5 separate regions of the Homo sapiens genome follow, and regions 1, 2, 4 and 5 are each linked to region 3. The links are contacts of gene promoters, found by promoter capture Hi-C in human tissues and cell types (Jung and others, 2019). All regions are on one chromosome and are shown on one strand. The core of a region is centred on a gene start or on the middle of the fragment in contact, and the rest is flanking DNA. Distances in the headings are between cores, read along the strand shown.

The links. Contacts are between HindIII fragments. The study calls those that stand out against the background at their distance.
Region 1: a contact is called between a fragment that was not itself captured here and the fragment with the promoter of PCDH10 in region 3, in 1 of the 25 tissues and cell types used here (lymphoblastoid cells).
Region 2: a fragment that was not itself captured here is called in contact with the fragment with the promoter of PCDH10 in region 3 in 1 of the 25 tissues and cell types used here (H1 embryonic stem cells).
Region 4: a fragment that was not itself captured here is called in contact with the fragment with the promoter of PCDH10 in region 3 in 1 of the 25 tissues and cell types used here (mesenchymal stem cells).
Region 5: a contact is called between a fragment that was not itself captured here and the fragment with the promoter of PCDH10 in region 3, in 1 of the 25 tissues and cell types used here (H1 embryonic stem cells).

Annotation. Positions count from the first base shown.
Region 1 is chr4:134,151,162-134,157,297 of GRCh38, reverse strand. It overlaps a transcript of PABPC4L not described here. Among named protein-coding and RNA genes, the nearest start is that of PABPC4L, 48 kb to the left of the region's middle. The HindIII fragment of the contact is 5,431 bases long and covers 1,655-6,136 here.
Region 2 is chr4:134,463,748-134,469,732 of GRCh38, reverse strand. All of the region lies in intron 3 of LINC02462 (long intergenic non-protein coding RNA 2462), which reads right to left. Among named protein-coding and RNA genes, the nearest start is that of LINC02462, 43 kb to the right of the region's middle. The HindIII fragment of the contact is 4,039 bases long and covers 1,513-5,551 here.
Region 3 is chr4:133,146,640-133,152,323 of GRCh38, reverse strand. It overlaps PCDH10 (protocadherin 10), which reads right to left and starts at 3,030. Exons shown (of 5, transcript NM_032961.3): 1 at 1-3,030. The coding sequence starts at 2,183. It overlaps PCDH10-DT (PCDH10 divergent transcript), which reads left to right and starts at 3,208. Exons shown (of 9, transcript NR_125885.1): 1 at 3,208-3,295; 2 at 5,048-5,125. RefSeq lists a silencer at 2,977-3,116 and an enhancer at 3,227-3,286. The HindIII fragment of the contact is 10,822 bases long and covers 1-5,684 here.
Region 4 is chr4:134,570,945-134,577,181 of GRCh38, reverse strand. No RefSeq gene overlaps it. Among named protein-coding and RNA genes, the nearest start is that of LINC02462, 150 kb to the right of the region's middle. The HindIII fragment of the contact is 4,379 bases long and covers 1-3,488 here.
Region 5 is chr4:134,268,225-134,274,431 of GRCh38, reverse strand. No RefSeq gene overlaps it. Among named protein-coding and RNA genes, the nearest start is that of PABPC4L, 70 kb to the right of the region's middle. The HindIII fragment of the contact is 3,125 bases long and covers 2,626-5,750 here.

The sequences.
Region 1 (6,136 bases), core at 3,121-5,620, 1.0 Mb before region 3:
CAAATGAAATCTTAATACTAAAAAAAAAAAAACTAAGAGCATTCTGTGAATTTTGAATAAAACAATAATTTGTAACAAATTTGAAAACAAAAAATTCTTCCACATGGTATTAAAATGGACAGTGTTAAACAACCCCGGGATCAAACTGGAAACAAATAAAACTACATTATTTCTCAAAATTAAAATGGGGCTTATCAGGATTTATGGGATACAGCTAAAGTAAGAATCAGAGAACATTTGACAGCATTAAATATATGCACCAATAAAAATTAGAAAAAAAATTGAATTAATATCATTTTTAAAGTTATTTTAAAACCAACAACATATTAAACCTAAAGAAAACAGGGAGAAGAATTTGAGGGAATTGTCACCTAAATTAGAGTGTACCTCAGCACTGTTTTACATTAGTGGACCAGAGCTGTTTAAATAAACAGTATTGCTGCCTTCATGGAACTTTCAGACGATTTGAATTTTAAAAAGGACTGGCTTGGAAAGGCAGGTTGATTTCTTTTCTCTCCAGAGTTGTGTTATGGGATAACAATTTGTAACACAATATGGTCACAGTTAGACTATACAAATGCAGACTTTATTACTGAAATATTTAAGATTTATATATAGATCTAGTATTTATTAACAGGTACCCAATAAATACCCCATTCTAATATAATTTCCTTATATTTATAGTTTACACTATATTTCAGTAATTTACAGTATGTTTCAGAAAACTAATTGTTTCTCTTTCCAGAATCTATTGAAATATTATTTTTTTCCGTGCATCCACATTTGTAAGAACACTGATGGATATGATGGTTTCTGTTTCATCAATATTAATTTAAAGCTGCTGAATATCCTTGGAGAGCTAATCAAGAAGGTAGAAGTTTTTCCACATTAATGTTGTCAAGTGACAGTAGATTTAAGAGGTAACGAGCACTATTTACTTAAAAAGAAAATGTTTTCCCTTATGCAATTACTGTTAGAAAAATCATTAGCCACAACAAAAGCTCTATGAGTCAGTTAAACATATGTCTCATTCTATAATTTATACTTCTTCTTAACAGGCTGTGATCCCTTAGGTCGAGATTACTTTAGAAATACAAAGAGGACCTTAAAACTAAATAATTTCTATTATAAAATGAACATGTAAATTATCTGCTAAATTACTTGTACTTAATTAGTAATTTTGCATAATGACATACATTCTCTTTGGGTCTCTTCAGGCTCCGACAGATAACACTTTACAAATGTTACTTAAGTTCCAATTACAGCACAAACCTTGTAGAAATGTACTATTAATCTAAATATGCAAACGTGAGCAATACTAGCATTCCTTAGACAAACTATAATTCAACATTTCTGCTAAAGGGTACCTTGGCTCATTTTGAATTCAATGCTTTTTATGTTATTGTTTCTTACTTAGAAACTAACAGCTATCCATTTTTAAAAGTTTGTAGGTGAATAACATAGTGTACAATTATTAGAGTTAGCTCATTTGACTTTTAGTGTAGAAATTCAGATTACAAAAATATTTATCTTCTGATTTAAATGCTGTGGTTTTTTGGTAGTTAACGATAAAATAACCATGGAAGACAGCTACTAGTACTATCACTGCAGTGTTCTGGCTGAATTGTTCTAATCTTGTCATAATAACTTTGGGTTTTAAATGATTATATGTAATTCACTTAGAGGAACAGTACATTTATTTCAAATAAAATGATGAAAATAAAAATTATTTATTTCTTTAACAAATATTTATTGAATAATTACAATGTATAGAGGATAGAGCAATGGGGAAGATAGACATAGATCTCAGAAGTTTACATTCAGACTGTGTGTATATGACAGTATGTTTTGTACATGACTCTGTGTGTGTGTGTGTGTGTGTGTGAACTGGGAGAGAAATAATGATTAGAAGTTGATTAGAAATAGATAATGTGTGTTGGGGGAGAGAAAGAAGGAATAGGAAAATAGACAACCTATTATCAGAGTTTGTAAGAAAAATAAAGTTATGTAATAGACAAATGACTTGAATAAGAAGTCTACTTTAAATATAGCCTTCCATTTTACACAGAAATATAAAATAAATTTTACATAGCTTTCAGGCCCGTCAAATTAAAGTACTGGATAAATTATATGGAGATTGTATTTTGCTTTCTTTGAAATGTAATCTAGAGTGGTTCAACATTTTGGAAAATCATGTCACCTCTGGCAATACCATTTGTGCCATATGAATTGTCATTTCAGCTTCTACACTGACATCACTAGCATCATTTTGTGATAGCATTTGTATAATAATGGTGATTTCGACTCTATTTAATAATGTTATATATAAAGAAAAAACATCTACAATATTCGGTTGAAGTTTTGCTATAGTGTTTTATCACTTTACCTGAAAATTAATATCATGAATGTAATCTACCAACTTCTTTTTCAAATTAAGCAACAAAAATGTTAAGATTAAATGCGAAGTTTAAAAAGAAGTACAGTAGCTCACATAATCCTGAAACTTAAGAAATTTAAAAAAATTTTAAAAATTAAAAAAATTCTACTGTCATTAGAATGTTTAAAAACACTTAAATTCAGAATGAGCAAGGTTTCTTTTATATATAAAGTACAAATAATGCAAAATATTAATATGATGAACCACACAACACTGGAGAAAAAAAAATCTTACCAGCCAAATGTGAAGTTTTAAAAGGGAGTAATTTATTCTTCTGATTGTCCAAAGGCAATGTTTATAGAGGAATCAATGAGAAGGTAAAATATTAGGTATATAATAAACTGCAAATCATATGTAAAATTCAAAAGGATAGGGGAGATGTTATTTATTTATTTATTTATTTTTTAAACAGAGTCTGGCTCTGTTGCCCAGGCTGGAGGTCAGTGGCAGGATCTCAGCTCACTGCAACCCCTGCCTCCAGGGTTCAGACAATTCTCGTGCCTCAGCCTCCCAAGTAGCTGGGACTACAGGCATGCGCCACCACGCCTAGATAATTTTTGTATTTTTAGTAGAGATGAGGCTTTGGCGTGTTGCCCAGGCTGATCTCAAACTCCTGAGCTCAGGCAGTCTGCCTAAATATGGATATAGGTAAGATTGAAGTAGAGTTTCTTATAAAAAATATTTCATAATATTTTATTTAAAGATACCAATTTTCTATGGAGTCAATGTTTCCTATAAGAATACATTTAAACTTTCATATAGATAATAAGATAGATTATCTTTACTGAGTGATTTTTCTTGGTTCCTTGATCCCAATTTAGCTCCTTTAGGGACGCGTTTCATTTATAAAGACAAGACAGGATTCACCACCTTCCTTTTTCCTCTTTGGAATTGTTTGAAATGTTAAAATCCTCTCCTAATTTATTGTGTAATAATCTTAGCTATGTAGCCTTTAAAACATGCAGAAAGTAGCAAAAGCTCATTAAGAATAAAGATATTTGTAAAGTGAGACCCTGTCTCTACAAAAAAAAAAAAAAAAAAAAAAAAAAACTAGGCATAGGGGCACATGCCCGGTAGTCCCAGCTACTCTGGAGGCTGAGGCAAGAGTATTGCTTGAGCTAGGAGTTCAAGGCTGCTTTGAGCTAACATCACACCACTGCACCCCAGCATGGACTACAGATCAAGACTCTATCTTAAGAAAATAAAAAAATAAAGAAAGAAAGAATAAATATGCTTGTATTTAAACAAAACAGAATACTGAATGTGGGGAGGAAAAGTATCCAAAAGTATACGGCCTTTAGCTAAGGTGACCCTTATTCACATTAAATAAATAATATCACGTGAACAATTAAATAAATTTTGAAAATAAAATCTTTCACTGTCAAACTCAAAATTGTGATTTGTTTTTGACTTAGAGTAAATATTATTTCTTGTAACCTTTATGGACATTTGCATGGAAAATATTCTTGGTCTATTGGTATATTTAAAATATATATATATATACACACATACTTCAAAAACCAGCATCTGAACATTATATCCAAGCATTAACAGTGATGACTCGGCAAACTAAAACACTATGAAGGCAGAAAGACAGAAGAGTGATGAATTTTATATTGCGATTAATACCTTATTTATACTCAATATGAAAGACACAGTACTAAAAAAATAGAGACAAGCTATAATGAAAATGAGTTGAAAGGAATTCTATTATGTTTGGATGTTTATCCCCAATGTGATGATCACTCTCAAATGTGATCCCCAGTGTTAGAGGTGGAGCCTCATGGAAAGTGTTTGTGTCACGGGAGCAGATCTCACATGACTAGATTAACCTTTCTAGTGTGAGAGTTGAGTGAGTTCTTGGTCTATTAGTTCCTTCCAGAGCTTGTTGTTAAAAATAAGCTAGCATCACCCCTCTCCTACTCTTTTGCTTCCTCTTTTACTATGTGATCTCTGCACACACTGCCTCCCCTTTTCCTTCTACCATGAGTGGAGGCAATCTGAGACCCTCACCAGGAGCAATTCTGATGCCATGCTTCTTGTACATACTGGAGAAGTGTCAGCCAAATAAAACCTTTTTGCTTTATAAATTACCCAGCCTCAGATATTTCTTTATAGCAACATAAAACAGACTAATGCAGTAAATCTGTACCAAAGGAGGGATGGTGTAAAGATACCTGAAAATGTGGAAGCAGCTTTGAAACTGGGCAATGGGGAGAGGTTGGAAGCGTTTGGAGGGCATAAGCTGTAAGCCCCTCTGTCTTCCACATGGTATTGAGTGTGCAGATGCCCAGAATGCAGGAGTGCTGGAGGCTTGGTAACATTCACCTAGGTTTCGGAGGATATATCCTCAGGCAGAAGCCTGCCACAGAGGCAGAACCACTGTAGACAGTACTCACCAGGGCTTTGCTTAGTGGAGCTGTGGAAATGGGGCCACTGCCTTAAATTTTATTAATTTTCAACAGTCAATTTTTCCATATATTTAAGAAGGAAATCTCCAAGATCTTACATGAAATTATTCAAAAAACCTAGAGTTACAATATACTTTCCTAACATACTTTATAATGTAACATATTCTTAACACTAAAACCTGAAAATAATATTGAAATATATTAATAGTCAATATCTCTCGTAGCTATAGAAGCTAAAAGCTTAAACAACAATATTATTATTCATTTTTATCAAAAGAAACATTAAGAAAAAAGAGTGTAAACCACAGGAGAAAAATAGTTACAATAAATATCTCTAACAAAAGACCTGATTTCAGATTATATAAGGCACTTGTATAAATCAATAAATAAAAGAATGACAATCCATTAGAAAATTGGGCAAAAAACTTGAAAAGCTGCTCAAAAATAATAATATCTAAATTGATATGGACATAAAATGGAAATTCAGTAAAAATATAAAAATATGTTACATTATTTTTTGCAAAAAATTTTAACTGATAATATAGTTTTTAATTTCATGATGGGAATTTACCAGGAATATTCTTATATTATAATAAGCTTTAATTAACTTACCATTTTACATATTTTTCTGTTGTCCAATTTTCCCTTTGTCATTTCAAAGTATTTTAAATTTGCTATGAAAATGGTAACATATATTATATTCTAGAAATACATGATAAAATTTTACAACTTTGATGTGTCCCCACTAATAGTTAATTCTATTCTCTTTATTTTGAGTTAATAAAATAAATAATTGGCAAAACATTAGAAAAGATAAGATGAAATGTACTATTTAAATGTAGGTATTCTGACAATTTTGTATGTGTTGATGGAGTAGATAGATATTGTTAGGATATAAATGACTTTATATTATAAGTTACCATTCTGAAATAAAATGATCAGAAAGAATATTTAATGAACATTGTTTATATCAGGAAAAGTTTTCCACACCTCTCGATTCTATTCTTAAGACATTATAATATGATCGTTTTGATGAACAACACCAACAAAAATTTAGTAAAGCAATATTTATGAAGTGCTGAGAAAATTGTAACCATGTTTTGGGATATAATGGTTAGCATGTGCAACTATGAGATTTTAATTTTGTGTTCTTTTTATTTTTTATTTTTAACCGTAATACATATACAGTAAAGTATGTAGTGTATACAGTGCTCCATGTTTTTAACATAAATGCCTGTGTAATCACAAACAGGTCAAGAACAAGGGATTGCCTGCCTTTCAGAAATTT
Region 2 (5,985 bases), core at 2,283-4,782, 1.3 Mb before region 3:
AAATTTATATAATCATCATCTCTTCTAATGAGATGAAAGGCTGTTTTTACATTTTACTGAAACTAAAAAACATAGACATGTGTAGATAGAAAGAATATTGATACTTTATTCCTATTCTAGTTGCATGGATAGCTACATCACATATAGGCAATTAATTAAGTAATTAAATAATTATTCACTTTATTTTTAACAACTATTTTTGGCTATGGAGCGAGATACTATGGATGCAACATTGAGCAAAAGTAGACATGGTCCCACCAGTATCACGACAAGGTCTACACTTAATGGCGCAGCAAATTTGGAGAACATTTTTGAAAATTTTTTCAATCGTTTATGAATTACTACACAAATGACAGATGTGGTTAGAATCTCAGAAGACTAGAAACATCATAAGCATAGTGATGCGTTAATTAGAGTTCTCATATGTAAATAATAGTATTTCAGTTTCTAGGGAGAAAATAGTAATTTTTATGAAGACTGCATTCAGTCTATAGATCAATTTTGGGAAAATTGACATCTGAACAATATAGTCTCATGCAATGTATTGACATGATATATTTATATATTTCTCCATTTATTTAGGTGTTTTTAATTTCTCTCAACTATGTTTGGTACTGTTAATTTTACAGGTGTTATACTTATTTTGTTAAAATTACTACAAATTATTCCATGTTTAATGATGGTATTACTTTTAAATTTTATTTACGCACTCTTTTTTTTTGCTAATATATAGAAATTCAATTGCTTTTGCATATCAATCTGGTATCCAATAATCTTTCCAAACTCACTGGCTATTTCTAGGATATTTTTGTAATTTTAAGGATTTTTAAAAATAGATGATTAAGATATTTGTGCATGTAAATATTACTCAATCATTTCTAGTTTGTATATTTTATTTATTTTTCTTGAATCACTTCTCTACCCCAGCAACTTCATTTTAATCCTTTCTTTTCCCTAATATTTTCCCAATATTCTTGCCTTCCCCAATAGAGAGGAAAAGAATTCAGTCTTTCAACTATGTATTTTGTTTACTCTTGGATTTTAGTAGATGTTTTATATAAGATTTCATGTGGCAGAAATCCAAGATTTCCAGGATGATCTCCACACCTTAATGTTATAACCAATACAATCTTTTTTTTTTTTTTTTTTTTTGAGCATAGGCAGGACTTGTGGCTTGCCTCTAATTAATGGAATATGGCATAGATGATGGGATATCACAACCATGATTGGGTTATAATGTATTAGTCCCTCTTACTTATAAATGGTAGAAGCTTTCCAATGGACCTTGCAAAGGCAAGGTGCTATGACAGACAGACAGGGCCACATGTCAGGCAAGCAAGAGTGACCTGTAGGATCTGACAGCCTCAGTCCCAGACTGTAAGAAACTGAAATCTGCCATAACAACATGAATTTGAAAGAGAACCCTGAGCTCCAGAATACACAACTGAAACCTTGATTGAAGCTTTATGAGATACTGAGCAGGGGACTCAACTAAGTTGTGTACAGACATCTGACCCATAGACACTTTGATATAATAATTGGTGTTCTTTTAAGCTGCTAAGCTTGTGATAATTTCCCACACAGCAATAGAAACTAAATATACAGATAAAATATTTTTTCTTGTATTCTCTTTTTAAAAATTAATTTTGGAGATTATTTTCAATTTTCTGAAATATTTTGTATGGGATTATATTATTTATTGTTTAAATATTTGAAATGAATAACCAGTAATGCCTCTGGGTCTAGATTTTTCTTTGTTGGAAGGTTTTCTGCTACTAATACAATTAAAATCTAGAAAAATCAGCATTTTAATTAATGGTGTTGGTAATTTGTGTTCTTACTCTTTTTTCTTTTATTGCAATAGCTAGATAATGAACAATTTGGCTGATGTGTTCAAAGAATTTGCTTTTGGTTTTATCAAATTTTTCCCCATTATTGTCACTTTTCTGTCATCAATGTCTGCTCTTTTTTTATTATTACCTTACTTTTACTCACTTTGGGCTTAATTACTACTTGTTTTTCTAGATTCTTAAAATGGAAGATTAGACCAAATAATTAAGACCTTTCTTCTCTTTACCATAAACATTGAAAGCTGTAAACTTCCAACTCAGTATTGGGTTAGCCACAGAACAGTTTTTAAGATGTTTCATTATGTATTATTTCATATTTTTACATTTCCCTTTGATGTTTTTCTTGGACTTCAAGTTATCAACCAGTGTATTTTTTAATTTTACATATTTAGGGGTAACCTAGTTATCTGTCTATTTTTGATTACTAATTTAATCCCATTATAGTCAGATAATTGTTATTTTATGCTATTTGTTTTATGACCCAGCATATGGCATATATTTTAAAATATTTTACAAACTTAAAAATTATGCATAGACTACTGTTGCAGCATAGCGTATAATACAAATTAAGTCAACATAATTGGTGTTATCACTCAAATTTTCTATGTATTTATTGATTTTGGATCTACATAGTCTATCAATAATTGAGAAAAGACAGACAAAATTTCCAACTGTAATTCTAAAATGTGTCCTCTTTTCTTTCTGATTCTAACAATTTTTTTACTTTTAAAAGTATTGTTGTTAGTGCATACTCATTTAGGATGTGTTTATGTCTCTTGATAAATTAACTTTCTTATAATTACATGTCCTTCTTTATCCATGTTATTATTTTTAAGTTTCTCATTACCTAATATTGGTATTCCCACTTACATTCTTGATTATTAGACTTTGCATGGTATATTGACTATACCCATCCTTTCTTTTAACATGACTATACCTCAATATTTAAAATAATTTTCATATAGACAGCATATAATTGGCTCTTACTTTCTTATATAGACCTACAACTGGAATGTGCATATCACTTATATTTTGTATAATTTTCAATATATTTGGGCTATGCATACAATTGTATTTGCATTCTATTTGTCTTCCTTTTTCTCTGTCCTTTTTTTCTTTCAAAGTAATTATTTTTCTCCTCAATTATGTATCTAGTATTGACTTAGCCATATTCTTTTGTTTTATTTTTAGGGTCACTGTTATATAATTTTAAAATGCTTTATCTTATCATATTTGTCCAATATTTATAGTTCACTGCTTGATGTATAATACAATAATATGTATAACATATATGTTTAATACGTATAACATGAATTTTACAACTTCCATTTCTGCCCTTGTTCTTTGTGTTATTTTTACCATACATTTAATAGATGTCTTGAGAGGCCTACAATACAGTTACTATGTTTTGGTTTTAATAGTCATCTTTTAATGAACTAAAAGATGGGGAAAAAGTCTTTAATATTTATTTACCGCACACTCAGAAATAGCATTCTTCATGGTCTACTGTAGTTCTGTGTTTCCACCTGGTATGTTTTCTTCAGCCAGGGAAGAACTTTCCTTAATATTCCTTCTAGTGTATGTCTGCTGGCTCTGAATTCCCTTAGGTCTTGTTCGCTTGAGAAATATTTCACTTTTAGTTTGGAAAGATATTTTCCTATATATAAATTAAGGTTTGGTAATTTTTGTCAGCAACTTAATTAGTTTGTTTCACTCCTTGTTTTCTTCATTTCTAATGAAATGTCTATAACCATTCTTATTTTTGTTCTCAAATGTTTAGTGTGGCTGCTTTAACATTTTTCTTTTTTAGCATTGTATATCAACAGTTTGATTTAGATTTTTCTTAGTGTAACTCTATGTTTATTCTGCTAGAGACTTTCTGAGATTCTCAACACAGGGGATATAGCGTTCACTAAATTTGGTATAGTTTGGGCACCGTTTTTCAAATACTTTTTTGACTTTCTACTTTGCTCTCCTCTTCTTCTGGAATACAAATTACATATAAATTAGAATACTTGCTACAGGCCACTGAGGCTTGGATTAATTTATTTGTCTATTTAAAAAAATATATCTTTGTGCTTCAGTTTAGATATTGCTAGGGACTGAATTTTATCTCCTCAAAATTCACTTGTTCAAGCCCTAACTTCCAATGTGACTGTATTTGGAGATAGGGTTGAAAAGGAGGTCATGAGGGTGGGGGCTGGATACAATAATGTCAGTGTCTTTCTGGGAAAAGACACCAGAGAGCTCCATCTCTCCACACATGCATGCAGAAAAGAAAGGCCATAGGAGGACACAATGAGCAGACAGCTGCTGCAAGCCAGGGAGAGGGTCCTCACCAGAAACTGGCCAGGCTGGCTCTCTAATCTTGAACTTCCAACCTCTAAAACTGTGGGGAAATACATTTCTCTTATTCAAGCCACCCAGCCTGTGCTGTTTTGTTATGGCAGCCTGAGCTGGCTAATATAGGTATTCTCTATTGCTTTTTATTTGAATTTATTGGTGATTTGACCTACTGTGATATAGCTGCTAAAGTTACCCAGTGGATATTTTAATTTTGATATTATAAATTTTATCTCTAGAAGTTCCATTTGGTTCTTATTTAAATATTTTTATGTATCTTTTGCATTATGTTCTTCTATAATAGTTCGAATATTGCAGTGGCTTAGTGATGTGCCTGTGCCGCTGAGCTAAACTACATTTCTCAGAATTCCTTTCCTGCATTTTCCAGTTAGAATAGGCAACAAGAAAGTTTCCTGTGGGGAATTGAAAGGTAGAAGTGAAGTGGCAGTCTTTTTGCAGCTCGTACGCATCATTGCTTATCCACTGCCTCACCTCCTTTGTGGAGAGAAGTGGTCAGGTTTGCAACTGCCCCAACTTCTCTGTCATTCTCCTAAAGCTTCTTTGACTCCTGGGCCAGAATTGTGTATGGTTAGATCTGTGGTAAAGGGTCCCAGCTTTTTCAGGACATTTACCACTTAAGGTCAGAGTCACTAAGAATTGATGACAGTTTTAGTCCATCTCATTCATTTCTTGACTTCCTGCTCTGTGGACTACATACAGCATCAGACCTGAAGACAACAGTCAGACAGAGACTGCTTAGACAGCTCCCACTATTGCATACGTCAATCCCTAAAATAAATAAGTATATAAGTAAACTTATATATACTTATGTGTGTGTACACTTGTTATATGAAACAAATATTTAAACATTTCTAATAGTTCTATTTAAGTTCTTGTATGGTAAATCTATCCTTTTTTTAATTTCCTTATTTTACTTTATTTTTAATGATTTTTCTCATGTGGCTCACAGGTCTGTTTTTTTACCTAGCTAGTGATTATTTTACTAGATCCCAGATATTGTACATTATTTTTTGTCAAGTGTTTAGATTTTGTTGACTTCTTTTAAAGACTATTGAAGTTTGCTTTGGGAGGTAGATAAGTTTTAAAAGGAGGCTTTTGTGGTTTTTTTATTGTTTATTTTTATTTTTTGGATCTGAAGTGGAATTTACTCAAGGGCCAATATAGCTCTGTTAGCCAGTTGTGAAACGTCTGAGGCTTCTATTAATTATCTCAAGTATTCAACAAGATTTTTTTACTCTCTCTGGACACTGACTGTCTTCCATCCTTGTGTGTGGCCTGGGAATTAATATTCTTACAATTTGTTTGCAGTCGATATTGCTTGACTTTGTGGAGTTTCACCCTGTGCACATGCAGATTAATATTCAGTCAAGAAAAACGGGAACCACTATATGTATTTTTGAGTTCCCTCCTTACTGTTGCTTTACCCCGCAAATTGCAGCATTCCCAGTCTTCCCAAACTACAGTCTGTCTCTTCAAGACAAGACTGTATTGCTTGCTTTGCTTCTCTTCTCGCTCTGTAATCCAGAACTTACCTTCAGACAAAAAGACAGAGCAATTCAGTGTGGATCTGTCTCTCAGGAAGCATAATGCTGTAATTCATATCATTCCAATGAGTGAAAACATTGTTTCAGACCTTTAGTCCAGATTTCTAGTTGTTTACATTGGGAGAAAATCTGTATACCAGTTACTCCTTTATAAAATTTGTAATAAGCGTTGATTAGGGAAAAATAAAAACGCAAAGAACATTTATTTCTGTATTTTTTTTTTGCTC
Region 3 (5,684 bases), core at 1,781-4,280:
ATGAAGGACACCGAGCCCAACGCGATGATGAGGATGAGGGTGAGGTCTAGCGAGGTTTCCCCGCCGCCAGAGCGACTGGGGCGCTGGTGCTCTCCTGACCCTCCGCCTCCGCTCCCGCCCCCGCCCTGGGGCTCCACGGCGCCATCCACCAGCTGAACCACCAGGGTGGCGGTGGAGGAAAGGGGCGGCTGCCCATGGTCGCGCACCTCGATCACCAGCTCATAAGGCCGCTGGGGGTCGCGCTTGGCCGGGACTCGGCGTGCTGTGCGCAGCTCCCCGGTGCGCCAGTCCATGCGAAAGAGGTTCATTTCGTTGCCACGCACGATGCTGTAAGTGAGCCGGGCGTTCTCGCCGTCGTCCGCGTCCACGGCGGCCACGCGGGTGAGCAGGTAACCCGGCTCCGCCGAGCGGGGCAGCACCTCACGCGCTGGAGTCCCGTTGCGCCCTGGTAGAGGCGCCACGATGGCAGGGGCGTTGTCATTTTGATCCACTATGAGGATGTTGACAGTGGCGTTACCAGCCAGCGCCTGGGGGCTGCCAGCGTCCCGGGCTTCCACCTGAAAACTGAAGTCCTTCAGCTGCTCATAGTCGAAGGAGCGCAGGGCGTACAAGTAGCCGTTCTCAGAGTTGATAGAAACGTAGGTGAAGACGCTCATGCCCTGGATCTGGCACTCGAGGATAGAGTAGGCAAGCTGGGCGTTGGCGCCCTCATCCCGGTCGGTGGCGCTCACCGCGTAGATGTAGGCGCCAGGCACGTTGTTTTCAGTCACATACACGTCGTAGACCGGCTGGCTGAAACGCGGCGCGTTGTCGTTCACATCCGACACTTGTACCTGGATCGACTTACTGGTGGAGAGCGCAGGCTCGCCCCGGTCCCGAGCCACTACAGTCAGGGTGTAGGAGTCCCCCGCCTCTCGGTCCAGGGGGGCTTCGGTAACGATGGTGTAGTAATTCTTAAAGGAAGACTTGAGGCGGAAAGGCACGTCTCCCAGTAGCTCGCACTGCACCTGCCCATTCTCCTCTGAGTCGCGGTCAGTCACGCTGAAAAGGGCCACCACAGTGCCGGGCGCCGCGCCCTCACTCACCGCTTCCTTCACGGTGCTGAAGCTGATCTCTGGCGCGTTGTCATTAGCATCCAGTACTCGCACTAGCACCTTGCAGTGCGCAGGCACGGCGTTGGGGCCCAGGTCCTTGGCTTGCACGTACACTTGGTACACTGGGCTCTCTTCATAGTCCAACTCGCCGCTTACCTCCAGTCTGCCAGTGCGCGGCGAGAGTCCGAAAAGCTCCCGCGCCCGGGGCGAAATGTGGCTGCTGAAGGAGTACACGACCTCACCGTTCTGGCCCTCGTCCGGGTCGGTGGCGTTGAGCTGGATCACGAGAGTGCCTGGGGGAGAGTTCTCTGGTAGGGACACAGTGTAGACGGGTTGGTCGAAAGCGGGCACATTGTCATTGGAGTCCAGCACTCGGATGGTGAGTAGGGCCGTGCCGGTGCGCTGCTGCTGGGGGGGCAGGCCTGCTCCCCCGCCACCTCCCCCTCCTTCTCCTACTCCTCCCCCACCTCCTCCGTCCACCGCGGTCAGCACGTAGCGGTGCACCGCTTGCTGCTCTCGGTCCAGTGGCTTCTCCAGCACCAGCTCAGCGAATCGGTTGCCATCCCCCTGGGTCTGCACGTCCAGGGAGAAGTAGCTGTTGGGGGTGATCTCGTAGTCGCGCAAGGAGTTGGTGCCCACGTCTGGGTCGAATGCGCTCTCCAAGGGGAAGCGAGTGCCTGGCGTGGCGCTCTCAGAGATTTCCACCGTCAGGTCTGGCTCCGGGAAAGAGGGGGGGTTGTCATTAATGTCCAGCACCTCGATCTCCACCTGGAACAGCTCCAGGGGGTTCTCCAGAAAGACCTCCAGGTGCAGGACACAGGAGGGGCTCTGTTTGCAGATTTGTTCGCGGTCTATTTTCTCGTTCACGTACAGCACCCCTGTCTCCAGGTTGAGGTCTAAGTAAGGGGTCCTTGAGTTGGGCACCGTCTGAAACCCGCGAGCCGAAAGTTTTGTAATGTCCAGACCCAGATCTTCAGCGATATTCCCCACGAAAGTGCCATGTTCCTGCTCCTCCTGTACCGTGTAGTGAAGCTGGGAAAAGACTCCTTCCACCATCCAGAGCAAGGCAAACAATAATAGCACAATCATCTCCAAAAGGAAAGGAAGTAGCTTCCCGCAGCCAGTCAGCCACCCAATCACCTCCCCCACCACCACGAAACAAAAAAAAATCTGAAAAAATACAAATAAAAGTGCGCTACGTGGGGGCTCCTGTGGCTTTCTGTCTTTAAAAATCTTACTCCTTTTGCTTCATTTTAGAGCTTCCCGCAATCCAGCCTCATTTTTTTTTAAATCTTAGCACAGGAAGGGTGACAGGCGTCCCCTTTCCTCATCTGTAATCTTTCCACTGACTAATTAATAAAATAACAATAATACAATAGTCAGCGTCCTTTATTCCGACAGTCTTGGCGCTGGCAAATCCCAAAGAGGAAATTTCGATATTTCAAGACTGTCCTCGGTTTGTCTTCTTGCTGATGGGAGGAGAACGAGGAGGAGGAAAAAGAGGAGGAGGAGGAGGAAGAAGAAGAAGAGGAAGAGGAGAAGGAAAAGGAGATGCTGTTGGCACCGTTAAACATGCCTCTTAATGTCAACGGCTGGCAAATGCAAAAGGGCTTAAAATCAGCGATATAATTTTGTGCCGGAAAAGCACAGAACGGCTCTGCAGCTTAAAACTTTCATTCTCTTCATTTCTCCGGATGGATGTTCTTCTTGACATTTTTTTCCTCTTTCGCTCTATTTGTATTTTTTGTCTTTCAGAGTCTTGGTTCCCTCTGTCCTCATCTCCACCGTTACTTGCCTCTCTGTAAGTGTAATGAGCAGTTTCTTTTCTGCTGTTTTCTTCCCAAGCCTCTTTCCCTCTAACCTGTCTCTTTTTCCTTCCAGTCCTTCCTTCCTCCTGCTTCAGCCTCTGAGCCTGTGGTCTGGGCTGGCAGTTTCTGAGCTCCGAGCGCTCGGCTTCTCCGTTTTTGCGCAGCGCCCTCATTCTGCCAACCAATCGCCCAGGAGCACCACCCACCGAGCTGCCGATGATTGGCCAAACTGGCCGCCAAACAGACACGTCACGCGGCAGCCGGGCGGGGCGGGACAGAACTCTCGCCCGAGCGGCCGGGGTGAGTGTGAGTGTGAGAGCGAGAACAGCCCCGCAGGTCCCGAGGCGCTGGCTGGGGACAATGCCGCGGAAAGTTCCCAGTCCCCAGCCGCAGGTAATGGGGAGGGAATAGAGAGGTTCCCCTGTTTGCATCAGCAAATGCGAAAACATAATAGCAACAGCTGCGATATCCTCTCCTAGGAGCGGGATTTCCAATGATGCTAACATTCTTTTTCCTTTAAGGTATTTTCCCTAATACGCATCATGGAAATAAATCATCGAGAAGGGAAAAAGTAGCGCAGGGCCCACTAATTGGCAAGGGTTACCTAATTAAGGGACCCTAGCAGAGACTGGCAGGGCATTTTAAAAGTGAGTATTATATGGCATGTGTCAATCTAAAGGTGAGGGGGTCTGACGGGGCCGTGAGGAAAGGCGCGAAGCATACGGAGTAGGGGGTGGAGGTGACTCCTAAAAAGCGGAGGAATTCACGCTAAAGGATGTGGGGATGACAGCGCTTACAGACGGGCAGACGCGTTCGACGTGCTTCTTTCCTCCCAAAATACATATTCACAAAATACTTACCAAGTAGATTAACTCACTCGAGGACCTAGCTTCGAGCCGTGAGCGCGTTCATCAGTGACTGAGGAGTTGATTTGAGCCGCTTCCTACAAGCCCGCCATCCTAACGCCGGGCTCTGGGGCATCCGGCACACAGCACCGCCAAGCGCTGCAAAGCGCCTCTGATATCCCTGCGCCTTGTGCGGCCAAGTGCCACGCAGCGGCTGGGAACACCGGCTATTTTCTATTTTTTTTTTGGCAATTGGAGATCGATCCCTTTACCCACCATGCTAGATTAGACCACTGATTTCTGCCAATCCTGGGGTCAGCCCGCGGGATGAGGACAGTGGGGCGGCGGCGAACGCGGGCGGGGTGGTGGGCAGGGCCCGTGCACACGAGGGGCCCGAGTGTGCACCGCTGCGGGTATCTGCGAACACGTTTGCACATGCACGGTACTTGCATCCATCCTCCCTGGCCCAGGGCTTAGCTCTGTGTAAGCCCCAACGGAGCCTCCCCGAGTTCCGAAGGACGCGCTTGACCAGCTGTGAGTGCCCCTTCCGGAGGCGCAGGGGCAACGCGGCACATCCACATAGCTAGTTCTTGTGAAGTTAAAACACAGCGCGAACTCTTTAATGCTGGAGAGTGGATAGAATGCCAGTTCTCTAAGGAAAGATCTATAAATATATATTTTTAATTAATGGGCCACTAGCAAGGAATTGGTTGTTTATTCACGAAAGAAGCCCCTATTCAATCTCCTTTTTATGCAAAGAGATAGGAAGGTCCTTTGCTGCTTTCTGGTAATGAATGACCCAAGAATACACCACCACAACCTGCGGGAAAAGTAGAGTCGTTTTCCGACCTGGAGATACGTTGCCATTTCCTCCTGGCAAGGAGTTAAGGAGGGCTAGTGTCCATGGGCGTGATAGTAGCCTGAGACGTGCTTCTGAGAGTCCCGCGAATGCACGTCTACTGCCCTGATTTCCGCGCCCCAACTCCCCGCAACGCCGGGTCCCCCCGGCCCCCGCACTTGGCTCTTTCATGAAGATGGGTCCTGCCTTTGAGCGCTTAGAAGGAAAGGATTCCAGCAAAAATGGCTAATCCTTTTCCAGCTGCAGTAAATTGAAGACTGGCCAAAGCCAAGCGAAAACCGCTGCAGTTAAAATGATTTTAGCATCACGTCTGCGGCTGAGAATGGAGCGGCAGTGTATAAAGGGACCTGTGGATCAATGAAAAGGAGATTATAGTGTATCTGAATATTAATACGGTATTGCATCTGTACTTCCACCCCTCCCCCCTTTCTTTTTCTTCAGATCTGCAGAATTGAAATGAAATGTTTTGAGCTCTTCAAGCTGACTCGTCAGAATCCTGGAGCCTTTTAAAAAATGACGGTAATTTTCTAATGCGTTCATTTGTACGTATGGAAACACTTGTGTGTGTGCGCGCGAGTGCGCGCGTGTTTGCATGTGGGAGACATGCAGCTGAATGACAATGCAGATCCAGAAACTGGGGAAGAGGGTTTCTACCCCTGAAATGTAGATGAAGTTTGAGCTGACTTGGGGCATATGCTGAAAGCCAGAGAGCTTCCAGAGGTGGAGATGAGATGGCCAGATTTGCCTGTAAATAATCACTACATCCACTGTAACACTTGAGCTGCTTTTATTTTTTTTTATTTTTTATTTTTATTTTTGGTAGCAGATGTGTTTGAATGGAACTCTCTCCGCAAACGTGGGTTACAGGCGTCTCCTAGCGGCGAAATCAGCATAGGGCAGGCCAGAGAATTTTGCTTTGGAGAGCTCGCCTTTTGGGGGCTCTACAAGATTTCTTGGGTCATAGGGGTCTGTGTCCGCACCAGCGTCGCTGAGCCCAGGCCCCCTAGAGGTCTCGCCTCTCCGACTTCTAGTCTTTGTGGCGCCAGCCAGGGACCGGCGGAGTGACGGTAGGGTCTTC
Region 4 (6,237 bases), core at 50-2,549, 1.4 Mb before region 3:
CAAAAGCCAGAGCATCTGGAGTTCCGACATCCAAAGGCAAGAAACAATGAGTGGCCGAGCTCCAGAAGACAGCAAAAATTTGCCCTTCCCCTGCCTTTTTGTGCTAGTCAGGCCCCCAGTCGATTGCCTAGTGCCTAGCCATATGGAGGGCAGATCTTCCCTACTCAGTCTACCAACTCAAATGCCAACATCCTCTGGAAGCACCCCTCACAGACACACTCAGAAATAATGCTTTCCAGTTATTGAATTATCCCTTAATCCAGTCAAGTTGACATGTAAAAATTAACTAGCACAGCTACCTAACATCCAGGGACTACACAAAATCTCTTTCTTAATAAGTAAGAAAGTTATTCTCTGTTTTGCTTAAATCATTCTTCTCTATTAGTATACTTTAAAATAGAAACTAGCAGTTTTATCAAAAGATTAATTAAAAAGTGCTGATAAGCGTGTATAAGTAATTCCTCAACAAAATTTACATATGAAAATTTCTTGATAAACAAATAATGATTACTCTTTCCTTGGAAAATAACATTATGCCAGCGAAAATCTATTTTACAGTGCATTTAGTTTTTACATTTAATTGTAAATTATTTAATTAAGTTCCTTATTATGAACACTTGAATATTTGGAGAATTTAATATTTTCTTTTGAAAATTCAACAAAATGTATTTTGGGAGTAAATAATCATATAAATATTTAAAATTTAAAGTATATAGCAGTATGATTATAATCATCATAGAAAACATAATTCTTTTATAATTTATTTTATGAGAAATGTATTGCCTTGAACATGACAGTCATTCTCTGAGGCAAAAATCCTTTGTCACATGTGAAATACTTAAAGCAAATAACCTGAATTATCTTCAACAAATGTCTTAAAAAGTGTTGTCTGCCCTTGGAGGTTAAATAAAACAGACAAAAACTGAATAAATGAGAGTTCATGCTGTTTCTTTACAATGTTACACATACTTCAAAATGATACATGATTTTGAAAAATAAAAACGTTAATGAACAGTTTTTGTTTTTACCTATATGTGTGTATGTCATTTATATAAAATAGCTGGTAGTATCATGTTATATGCAATATTCTATTTTTTCTCACTTAATGATACACAATGGTTCAAATTCTTAATTCACAACATCAAATATATTACCAAATAACTCACAAAAGGAAAAATAACTTAAGATATATGTTTAAATATATTCATACTTCTTACTTAACATCTTCTGTTCATTTGTTTATTCATTCAATTAACAAAATCTTTTTCCTTGTTAAATATCAAGGACATAATGGTGACAATATATGAATTTTAATAATGACTTTTGGGACGAATATATTTTTGAGCAAGCTTCCTTGCATTTCTATCCCAGCTCTACAATACTATATGTCATTGAAAAAACTATAGATCTTTGCTAAGCATATTATTTATCCTATATAATATGACATAAGTAATAGCATAGTCAGTTCTCCTATAATGCAATCTATGCATTTGGAAGAATTATAACAAAATGCAAAATCATGTGGTAATAACCATAAATGTTTGGAGAAAATTGGAACTAAGACATAACAGTTAAACACTTTTTTAGTGACACACAGAAATAAAAATAAAGAAAGCTACTAAAATATTAGCACAGTTTTACTCTTCTTAAGTTACTAAGATGCTACAGTAAATGTAGGACAGTATCTTGGGGGAAAAACAAGTTTGCTTGTGAAAGTGGAAGTTGGAATCATTACAGCTTAAGGTTGTACTTATCAGCAACTGAGAATTGGTAGAAGGAGGATTATCTGAAGGAGAGTTATTGATGTATTTCAAATGTAGAGAAGAACATTAGAAAATCTGTAGACATCAACCATACCTAGATATTCAAGAAATTCAATACAATATTTCAAAATTGGAGTTGAACAAGAGAAAATGGAAAGCCACTAAACAGTGAAATCACAAGGTTTCATTTTAACTTTAGAAAGACTACTAGATGTACAGTGAGAAAATTATATTGGTGTTAGAAATCATTATGATAGGAAGTCATATAAGAGAGATTATACAGGACTAAGCGAGATCATAAAACATTTAAATAAAGACAGCAACTGGGTGATAGATATCAGTGGAGGTATTTAAATAATGTTTAGAAAATATAAGAGTAGTTTTGATGGATGCTTTGATATAGCCTTGGGATAAAAAGATAGGATCAACAAAGAGGCAGAGTTTTTTTTGGCAACTGGGCATATAGTGGCCTCAAAGCAGACACAATAACTGATTTATTGAGAGTGGGATGGCATCATTTTTAAGTTCCCTGTGGGTCATCCATATAGAGTCTTCAAGGATACAATTGAATTAAAAAATACTAATCAGGAGAGTGGTGTGACAACAGTCAAGGTATGAAAAGCTGAGAAAGAATAACTAAGTTGCTTCTAATAGAGCAATTAGAAAAATGACTGAGGAGTTCACACTTAACTAGTAATACTGAAATCATTTTCAATTCTTGCAAAAATAATTTAAATTTGGGCGGCAGCACAGATCATAGAATATACGGAGTTGTGTAATAAGGTGAGGCAACAAGAAATGTAAAAGCTTTTTGAGTAATTATGATTGTTAGTATGAAGAGACATTATAGTTGGAGATAATTTGTTTTGTTGTCATTGCTGTTTTTGTTTATTTGTGTAATGGATTGATGTGTATCTCTTTATGTGTTAAAGGGAAGATGCCCCTAATGAGAAATAATTGATTATATATGAGAAAGTTTTGTCAGTGGTGTTCCAGAGTGGGGAAAAACAGTCCCAAAACACAAATAAAAAAATTACCTTTGACCTAAAAAGATATATGTCTTTTATTATAATTGGAGAAAGAGTGGAGAAAAGACACAATTATTTCACTGTTACAGTAGTATGAGATTGAAAGTAGTCTTTTCTGATTGCCTCACTTAAGAAAGGAGACTATATTAGCCCTTTGTCAGATGGATAGACTGCAAAAATTTTCTCCCATTCTGTAGGTTGCCTGTTAACTCTGATGATACTTTCTTTTGCTGTGAAGAAGTTCTTTAGTTTAATTAGATCCCATTTTTCAATTTTGGCTTTTGTTACCATTGCTTTTGCTGTTTCCGTCATGAAGTCTTTGCCCATGCCTATGTCCTGAATGGTATTGCCTAGGTTTTCTTCTAGGGTTTTTATGGTCTTATGTTTAAGTCTTTAATTGATCTTGAGTTAATTTTTGTAGAAGGTGTAAGGAAGGGATCCAGCTTCAGATTTCTGCATATGGCTAGCTAGTTTTCCCAACACCATTTATTAAATAGGGAATTCTTTCCCCATTGCTTGTTTTTGTTAGGTTTGTCAAAGATCAGATGGTTGTAGACGTGTGGTGTTATTTCTGAGGCCTCTGTTCTGTTCCATTGGTCTATATATCTGTTTTGGTACCAGTACCATGCTGTTTTGTTACTGTAGCCCTGTAGTATAGTTTGAAGTCAGGTAGCGTGATGCCTCCAGCTTTGTGCTTTTTACTTAGCATTGTCTTGGCTATGCGGGCTCTTTTTTGGTTCCAAGTGAAATTTAAAGTAGTTTTTTCCAATTCTGTGAATAAAGCCAATGATAGCTTGATGGGGATATCATTGAATCTATAAAATTACTTTGGGCAGTATGGCCATTTTTACGATATTGATTCTTTCTATCCATGAGCATGGAATGTTTTTCCATTTGTTTGTGTCCTCTCTTATTGCCTTGAGCAGTGGTTTGTAGTTCTCCTTGAAGAGGTCCTTCACTTCCCTTGTAAGTTGGATTCCTAGGCATTTTATTCTCTTTGTAGCAATTGTGAATGGGAGTTCACTTATGATTTGGCTCTCTGTTTGTCTGGTTTTGGTGTATAGGAATGTTTCTGATTTTTGCACATTGATTTGTATCCTGAGACTTTGCTGAAGTTTCTTATCAGTTTAAGGAGATTGTGGGTTGAGATGATGGGGTTTTCTAAATATACAATCATGTCATCTGGAAACAGAGACAATTTGACTTACCCTTTCCTAATCAAATACACTTTATTTCTTTCTCTTGTCTGTTTCTCCTGGCCAGAACTTCCAATACTATATTGAATAGGAGTGGTGAGAGAGAGCATCCTTGTCTTGTGCTGGTTTTCAAAGGGAATGCTTCCAGTTTTCGCCCATTCAGTATGATATTGGCTGTGGGTTTGTCATAAATAGCTCTTATTATTTTGAGATACGTTCCATCGATACTTAGTTTACTGACAGTTTTCAGCAGGAAGGGCTGTTGAATTTTGTCGAAGGCCTTTTCTGCATCTGTTGACATAATCATGGGATTTTTGTCATTGGTTCTATTTATGTGATGGATTACGCTTATTGATTTCCATATGTTGAACCAGCCTTGCATCCCAGGGATGAAACTGACTTGATCCTGGTGGATAAGCTTTTTGTTGTGCTGCTGGATTCGGTTTGCCAGTATTTTATTGAGGATTTTCACATTGATGTTCGTCAGGGATATTGGCCTAAAATTTCCTTTTTTGTTGTTGTGCCTCTGCCAGGTTTTGGTATCAGGATGATGCTTGCCTCATAAAATGAGTTAGGGAGGATTCCCTCTTTTTCTATTGATTGGAATAGTTTCAGAAAGAATGGTACCGGTTCCTCTTTGTACCTCTGGTACAATTTGGCTGAGAATTCCTCTGGTCCTGGGATTTTTTCAGTTGGTAGGCTATTAATTACTGCCTCAATTTAAGAACTTGTTATTGGTCTATTCAAGGATTCGACTTCTTCATGGTTTAGTCTTGGAAGGGTGTATGTGTCCAGGAATTTATTCATTTCTTCTAGATTTTCTAGTTTATTTGCACAGTGGTGTTAATAGTATTCTCTGATAGTAGTTTGTATTGCTGTGGGATCTGTGGTGCTATCCACTTTATCATTTTTTACTGTGTCTATTTGATTTTTATCTCTTTTCTTCTTTATTAGTCTGGCTAGCTGTCTATCTATTTGCTGATCTTTTCAATAATCTAATTCCTGGATTCATTGATTTTTTGAAGGTTTTTCATGTCTATCGCCTTCAGTTCTGCTCTGATCTTAGTTATTTCTTGTCTTCTGCTAGCTTTTGAATTTGTTTGCTCTTGCTTCTCTAGTTCTTTTAATTGTGATTTTAGAGTGTTGATTTTAGAACTTTCCTGCTTTCTCTTGTGGGCATTTAGTGCTATAAATTTCCCTCTACACACTGCTTTAAATGTGTCCCAGAGATTCTGGTACATTGTGTGTTTGTTCTCATTCGTTTCAAAGAACATATTTATTTCTGCCTTCATTTCATTATTTACCTAGTAGTCTTTCAGGAGCAGGTTGCTCAGTTTCCATGCAGTCGTGTAGTATTGAGTGAGTTTCTTAATCCTGAATTCTGATTTGATTACACTGTGTTCTGAGAGACTTCGTTATGATTTCCATTATTTTGCATTTGCTGAAGAGTGTTTTACTTCAAAGAACTTAAACAAATTTACAAGAAAAAAAACAACTCCATCAAAAAATGGGCAAAGAATATGAACAGACACTTTTTAAAAGAAGACATTTAGGCAGCCAACAAACATGAAAAAAGTGCTCATCATCACTGGTCATTAGAGAAATGGAAATCAAAACCACAATGAGATACCATCTCACAGTAGTTAGAATGGTGATCACTGAAAGGTCAGGAAACAACAGATGCTGGAGAGGATGTGGAGAAATAGAAATGGTTTTACACAGTTGGTGAGAATGTAAATTACTTCAATCATTGTGGAAGACAATGTGGTGATTCCTCAAGGATTTAGAACTAGGAATATCATCTGACCCAGCAATCCCATTACAGGGTATACACCCAAAGGATCATAAATTATTCTACTATAAAGACACATGCACACGTATGTTTATTGTGTCACCATTCACAACAGCAAAGACTTGGAACCAACCCAGATGCCCATCAATGATAGATTGGATAAAGAAAATGTGGCACATATACCCCATGGAATAGTATGCAGCCATAAAAAGGACAAGTTCATGTCCTTTGCAGGGACATGGATGAAGCTGGAAACCATAATTCTCAACAAACTAACACAAGAACAGAAAACCAAACACCACATGTTCACACTCATAAGTGGGAGTTGAACAATGAGTATACGTGGACATAGGGAGGGGAACATCACACACCGGGGCCTGTCGGCAGTTGGGGGGCTAGGGGAGAGATAGTATTAGGAGAAATACCCAATGTAGATGATGGATTGATGGGTGCTGCAA
Region 5 (6,207 bases), core at 2,939-5,438, 1.1 Mb before region 3:
CCTTTGGTGGCTGGAGCAAACAGGCCTGGGGCATAGGCGACAGCTCTAGGGACTGACTGAAGAGAAAAATATTTCAGCATACTTCTAATGTATCAAAGTCACCAGTTCTGAGTTGTGTTTTGTTTTTAAGTGTGTGAGGTTTAAAATTTTTTGAGTAGATGCTCACATCCAGGCACAGACACCTACTAACTCTATTATATTGGGTAAGTAACTTCATTTCTTTGACACTCAGTTTTTACATCTGTAAAATGGAGCTGATGAGGATGACTACTTCAGACAGTGTCTATGATTAAATCAGAGTGTTGATTCCTTAGCAAATTCCTTGACAAGTACTCAACATTCAATAAGTTTCATTTTTTACCCACCCCTCATTCCCATTCTACCAAGTTCAGATCTACTTGGAACAGAGTTGGAGAGGGCCGTTATAGGTGTATGGAGCACTCTTAGTCAGAAATGAATTAAGTCATGGAAATAGCATAAAAACATATGTGAGAAGCAAGCATGTGTCATCAAGGTCCAAATGAAATCTGTTCATTGAATGGAAAGAAGTTATTCATCTGCTTTTTGTACAGGCTCCTCTGTCAGCTCTCACAGTACTTTGGCAACTGAAAATCAAATCTCTTTCCTCTGGCAATAAAACTTCCCCATTCATCTATCTTTGATAGTTTGACAATGGTGCCCTTGTGCTTCTCATACATCTCAATAAAGGAAAGTGTCATTTTGTACCATGTATTTAGTTTTGTCATCTCTGTACTCAGTTTATAACCAACGTTAGACTTTTAATGTTGAAGAGGATTTGCTACGTGAACTCTATATTTGCAAAGAGAAAGGCAATGCACAGGAAACAGAGAAGACAATATTGGAAATAAATGGAATGATGCAAATTAACTCATTCACTTCCAAACAAGATATTATGTTCCAGACAGAATAAATAATTTGGCAGGGAATGTATAATTATTGAGTGGCAGAACAAGGTCTGAAGCCAGAAATTTCATCTGATCTGTCAGTGTCTTTTCTAAACTATAATTGCCTTCCTATTAGTGAGTATGTTTTCTCCCAAGGGCAGTTGAGGAAAAAGTGTTGCCTTTACAAAGTCTGTCATGAAAGGGCCATGCCCTTGGATATAAAGAGCAGTCACTGGATTATAGGGAGTATCTTCTGCAACATATAGGCATACCTCAAAGATATCGCAGGTTCAGTTCCCAACCACCGCAATAAAGTGAATATCACAATAAAGCAAGTCACACAAATTTCTTGGTTTCCAAGTGCATTTAAGAGTTATGTTTACACTATAATGTTCTCTATTAAGTGTACAATAGCATTATGTATAAAAATACATAATTTAAAAATAATGTATTACTAAAAAATGCTAACAATAATCTGAGCCTTCAGCAAGTTATAATCTTCTTGCTAGTGGAGGGTCTTGCCTCAATGTTGATGACTGCTGACTGCTCTGGGTGATGATTGTAGTAGGCCGGGGTTGGCTGTGGCAATTTTTTTAAAAAAGACAGCAGTAAGGTTTTCCATATCAAGCATGCAAGGCTCTTTGATAGCATTCCATACACAATAGAACTTATTTCAAAATTGGAGTTAATCCTTCAAACCCTGTCACTTCTATTGCATCTAAGTTTATGCAAGACTCTAAATTCTTTGTTGTCATTTCAGCAATGTGGACAGCATCTTCACCAGAAGTAGATTCCATCTCATGAAACCTCTTTCTTTGCTCTTCTCTAAGAAGCAACTCCTCATCCATTTAAATTTCATCATGAGATTGTAGCAATTCAGTTACATCTTCAGGCTCCACTTCAAGTTCTAATTCTCTTGCTATTTCCACTACATCTGTAGTTACTTCTTGGACTAAAATATGGAATCCCTCAAAGTCATCCATGAAGGTTGGAATCAGCTTCTTCCAAACTTTGTTGATATTTGATGACCTTCCATGGATAACAAATGTTCTTAATGGTATCTAGAATAGCTAATCCCTTCCAGAAGGTTTTCAATTTACTTTGTCCAAATCCATCAAAGGGATCACTATCTGTGGTAGCTATTGCCTTGCAAAAGGTATTTCTCAAATAATAAAACTTGAAAGTTGAAATTACTCCTTGATCTATGGGCTGCAGAATGGGTGTGCTATCAGGTGTGAAAACAACATTCAACATTTGTACATCTTCATTAGAACTCTTGGCTGACTGGGGGTATTGTCAGTGAGCAGTAATATTTTAAAAGGAATCTATTTTTTGAGCAGTAGGTCTCACTAGTGAACTTAAAATATTTAGTAAACCATGCTGTAACCAGATGTGCTGTCATCTGGACTTTGTTTTTCCATTTCTAGAACAAACAAATACTGACTTTAACCTGAAGTCACCTGCTGCATTAGCTCCAAGCAAGAGATTAAGCCTGTCCTTTGAAGCTAAGCATTGACTTCTCCTCTCTAGCTATGAAAGCCCTTGATTGCATTATCCTCCAATAAAAGGCTGTTTTATCTTCACTTAAAATCTGTTGTTTACTATAGTCACCTTCAGCATTTATCTCAGCTAGATTTTTCTGCATTACTTGCTCAAGCTTTTTCATCAGCACATGCTGCTTTACTTTGCACTTTACATTATGGAGACAGGTTATTTCCTTAAACCTCATGAACCAACTTCTGCTAGCTTTTAACTTTTCTTCAGCTTCATTACCTCTCCAAGCTTCCCTAGAATTGAAAAGAGTTAGGGCCTTGCTCTAAATCGGGATTTGGCTTAAAGGAATTTTGTGACTGGTTTGATCTTCTATCCAGGCTATTCAAATTTAGTTCATATCAGAAATAAGGCTGTTGTCACTTTCTTATCATTTGTGTCTTCTCTTGAGTAACACTTCTAATTTCCTATGATAATTTTTCCTTTGCATTCACAACTAAGCTGTTTAAGTCAAGAACCCTAGCTTTTAGCCCATTTCTATCTGGACATGCCTTACTCACTAAGCTTAATTATTTCTAGCTTTTGATTTAAAGTGGCTCTTCCTTTCATTTGATGACCTAAATGCCATTATAGGGTTATTAATTGGCCTAATTTAAATATTTCAGTATATTTCAATATTGTTATGTCTCAGAGAACAGGGAAGCCCAAGAGGAGGGGAAAGACTGAGGAACGGCTGGTTAGTGGAGCAGTGAGAACATGTCAATTAAGAACATTTATCAATTAAGTTTGTCACTTTATATGGTCACAGTTCATGGAGCCCCAAAACAATTACAATAGAAATATCAAAGATCACTGATTTCAGATGACCAGAACAGATACAATAATAAAAAAAACACTTTAATATTTTAAGAATTACCAAAATGTGACACAGAGATGGGAAGTGAACACCTGCTATTGAAAAAATGGTACCCGGCTGGGTGCGGTGGCTCACGCCTGTAATCCCAGCACTTTAGGAGGCTGAGGTGGGCGGATCACAAGGTCCAGAGTTCAAGACCAGCCTGGCCAATATGGTGAAACCTCGTCTCTACTAAAAATACAAGAATTAGCCGGGCGTGGTGGCGCATGCCTGTAATCCTAGCTACTCAGGAGGCTGAGGCAGAAGAATCCCTTGAACCCAGGAGGTGGAGGTTGCAGTGAGCCAAGATCATGCCATTGCACTCCAGCCTCGGCAACAAGAGCGATACTCTGTCTCAAAAAAAAAAAAAAAAAAGGTACCCATAGATTTGCTCGACACAGGGTTGCCACAAAGGTTCAATTAGTTAAAAATGCAACATTTGGCCAGGTGTGGCGGCTCACGCCTGTAATCCTAGCACTTTGGGAGGCCGAGGCAGGCTGATCACCTGAGGTCAGGAGTTTGAGACCAGCCTGACCAATACGGTGAAACCCCGTCTCTACTAAAGATACAAAAAAATTAGCCAAGCATGGTGGCGGGCACCTGTAGTCCCAGCTACTTAGGAGTCTGAGGCAGGTGGATCACCTGAGGTCAGGAGTTCGAGACCAGACTGACCAATATGGTGAAACCCCGTCTCTACTAAAACTGCAAAAATTAGCCCGGCATGGTGGCATGCGCCTGTAGTCCCAGCTACTCAGGAGGCTGAGGCAGGAGAATCCCTTGAACCCGGGAGGGGGAGCTTGCAGTGAGCCTAGATCGCACCACTGCACTCCAGCCTGGGCTACAGAGCAAGACTCCCTCTCAAAAAAAAAAAAAAAAAGAAAGCAGCATTTGTGAAGTTCAATAAAATGATATGCCTGTATTCTTTAAAAATCACAAAATAGAGCAGATGAAAATGGACATTCTTTACACATTTGAAGTATCATGGATAATTTAAATAAGTTGTACATTTTAATGGAATAGCAATATGAATAGAATATATGATATCTGTTTATTTGGGTAATATAGCAATTCGAGTAGAAAAAAATCAGTGATGTAAGAAATATCTCTATAGCTGTCATTTACTTGTACCATTAATTAATCATTTACTATATGTTACTCACTGTATTAAGCTGTTTATACAAATTTCATCCAATAATCACAAGAATCCAATGAAGAAATCTTATAATTAATATCATCTTAATGATGAGTAAACTGAGCCAAGTTAGAGAAGTTAAATGACATGCACAATTCATACAAATATAAGAAGTAAATTCAAAATTTGGACACAAGCCTGTCTAACTACAAGTACATTCCTATCACAATGCATATCATATCACTAATATTAGAATATTTAAAAGAAGCCTCAGCTAAGGGTCAACTTGTCTACCTTTGACTCTTTTCAAGAAATATATTTTGTGTCTTTCTACAATCTTGCATATATGTTTAGATATCTTTTCTTTTGTTCTTTAAATGGCTGCTACCACTCTTAATTCTCAGTGAATTAACTTTTACAGATTTGTCAGAGGACTGTTATTGTCTAGCCAACTCAGTCTAGGCAGGGTCATCATGGCCATCTCTAGCCCCTTTATTGCTGTCTCATATGGGTCATCTTTGTCCTCTCAATGTCTAAAATAATCTGTATAAGCATGCCACTTTTAAAGGTAAATGCAGAGAGTCAAAAATTTTATGTCAATAATCCAGACTGACAAGTTTTACAATGCAAATTTACCAGACATGTATGAGAATAATAATGCCTTTCAACACTAGGTGAAACAGTATTTGGAAGTAGTTTATATTATTATTTAAATTGTGATTGGCTTTCAATGAAAAAAGGCAAGTAAAAAAATCAGCTGAATCTCATTATACATCGAATACTGGAGAATATACGAGAATATGTTAACAATGTTTACTTCTTGTGAAAAGAATTACCATTGGCAGTACCTTCTTCTATTTTTTTTGTATTTTCTAATTTTCTGAAATATTATATTATTATGAATTATATATTATTATATTTATAACCAGTGAAAACAGTTTCATATAACTGTCAAATTTCATTAAAGTTATCCTCTTCTTCCTCTTCCTCCTCTTTCATTTCTTCTCCTTCTTCTTCTATATTTTTTCCTAAAGTAGCTTTATTTTTCTCCTGGCTAGTGGGTAGTTGGAAGGACACGTAACAAAACACATGATAGAGTCATATAACCATAAAAATATGAAAAAAAATCATAGCCCTAAAATCAAAGTGATAATTTTTCCTTGCTACCATATTAGTACAATGTCAATTATGCTTTTTCTAATGTTTCTAGTAATGATAACATGGCACATATATTACCAAATGTAAACTATTTTTTATTTTTTCCTACAAGAATCACCTCAGGAGAACTATGGCATATTTTAGCCTTATTTAATATGTTTCTGAGCTCCTGTGCAGATTTTTTTTGAAATGTATTCTAGAAGAAATACATGAAGTAGTTTCACCAGATTACATAATAATATTGTAAAATATCAAAGGCAAAGAGCTACTTGTGAGGTGGCATAAAACCAATAAAATTCAATGCACACTAAGATTGTAAGTGACCAAGTGGCAACAGTTTTACAGTCCTAAGAATGGGTGACAAATTGATTTTCTTTGCCAGGACACTTCTATTCATGAGGAAAAAGAAAAAAAAAAGACTTCACAAAGTCCAACCAAACAGTAGTAATGACTAAAATGTAATATGCAGAGAACACTCTACTAAGGCAGAAGACAATAAAATTGAGAAGAAATCTATAAAACAAAGTCAACTGTGAGATTTCAGATATATACAGTGAATTGGTTTTGTATAGTCAGGTCATTTTGTATTAATATATTGAGAAGGTAGTACATATTTTGCCTGAATT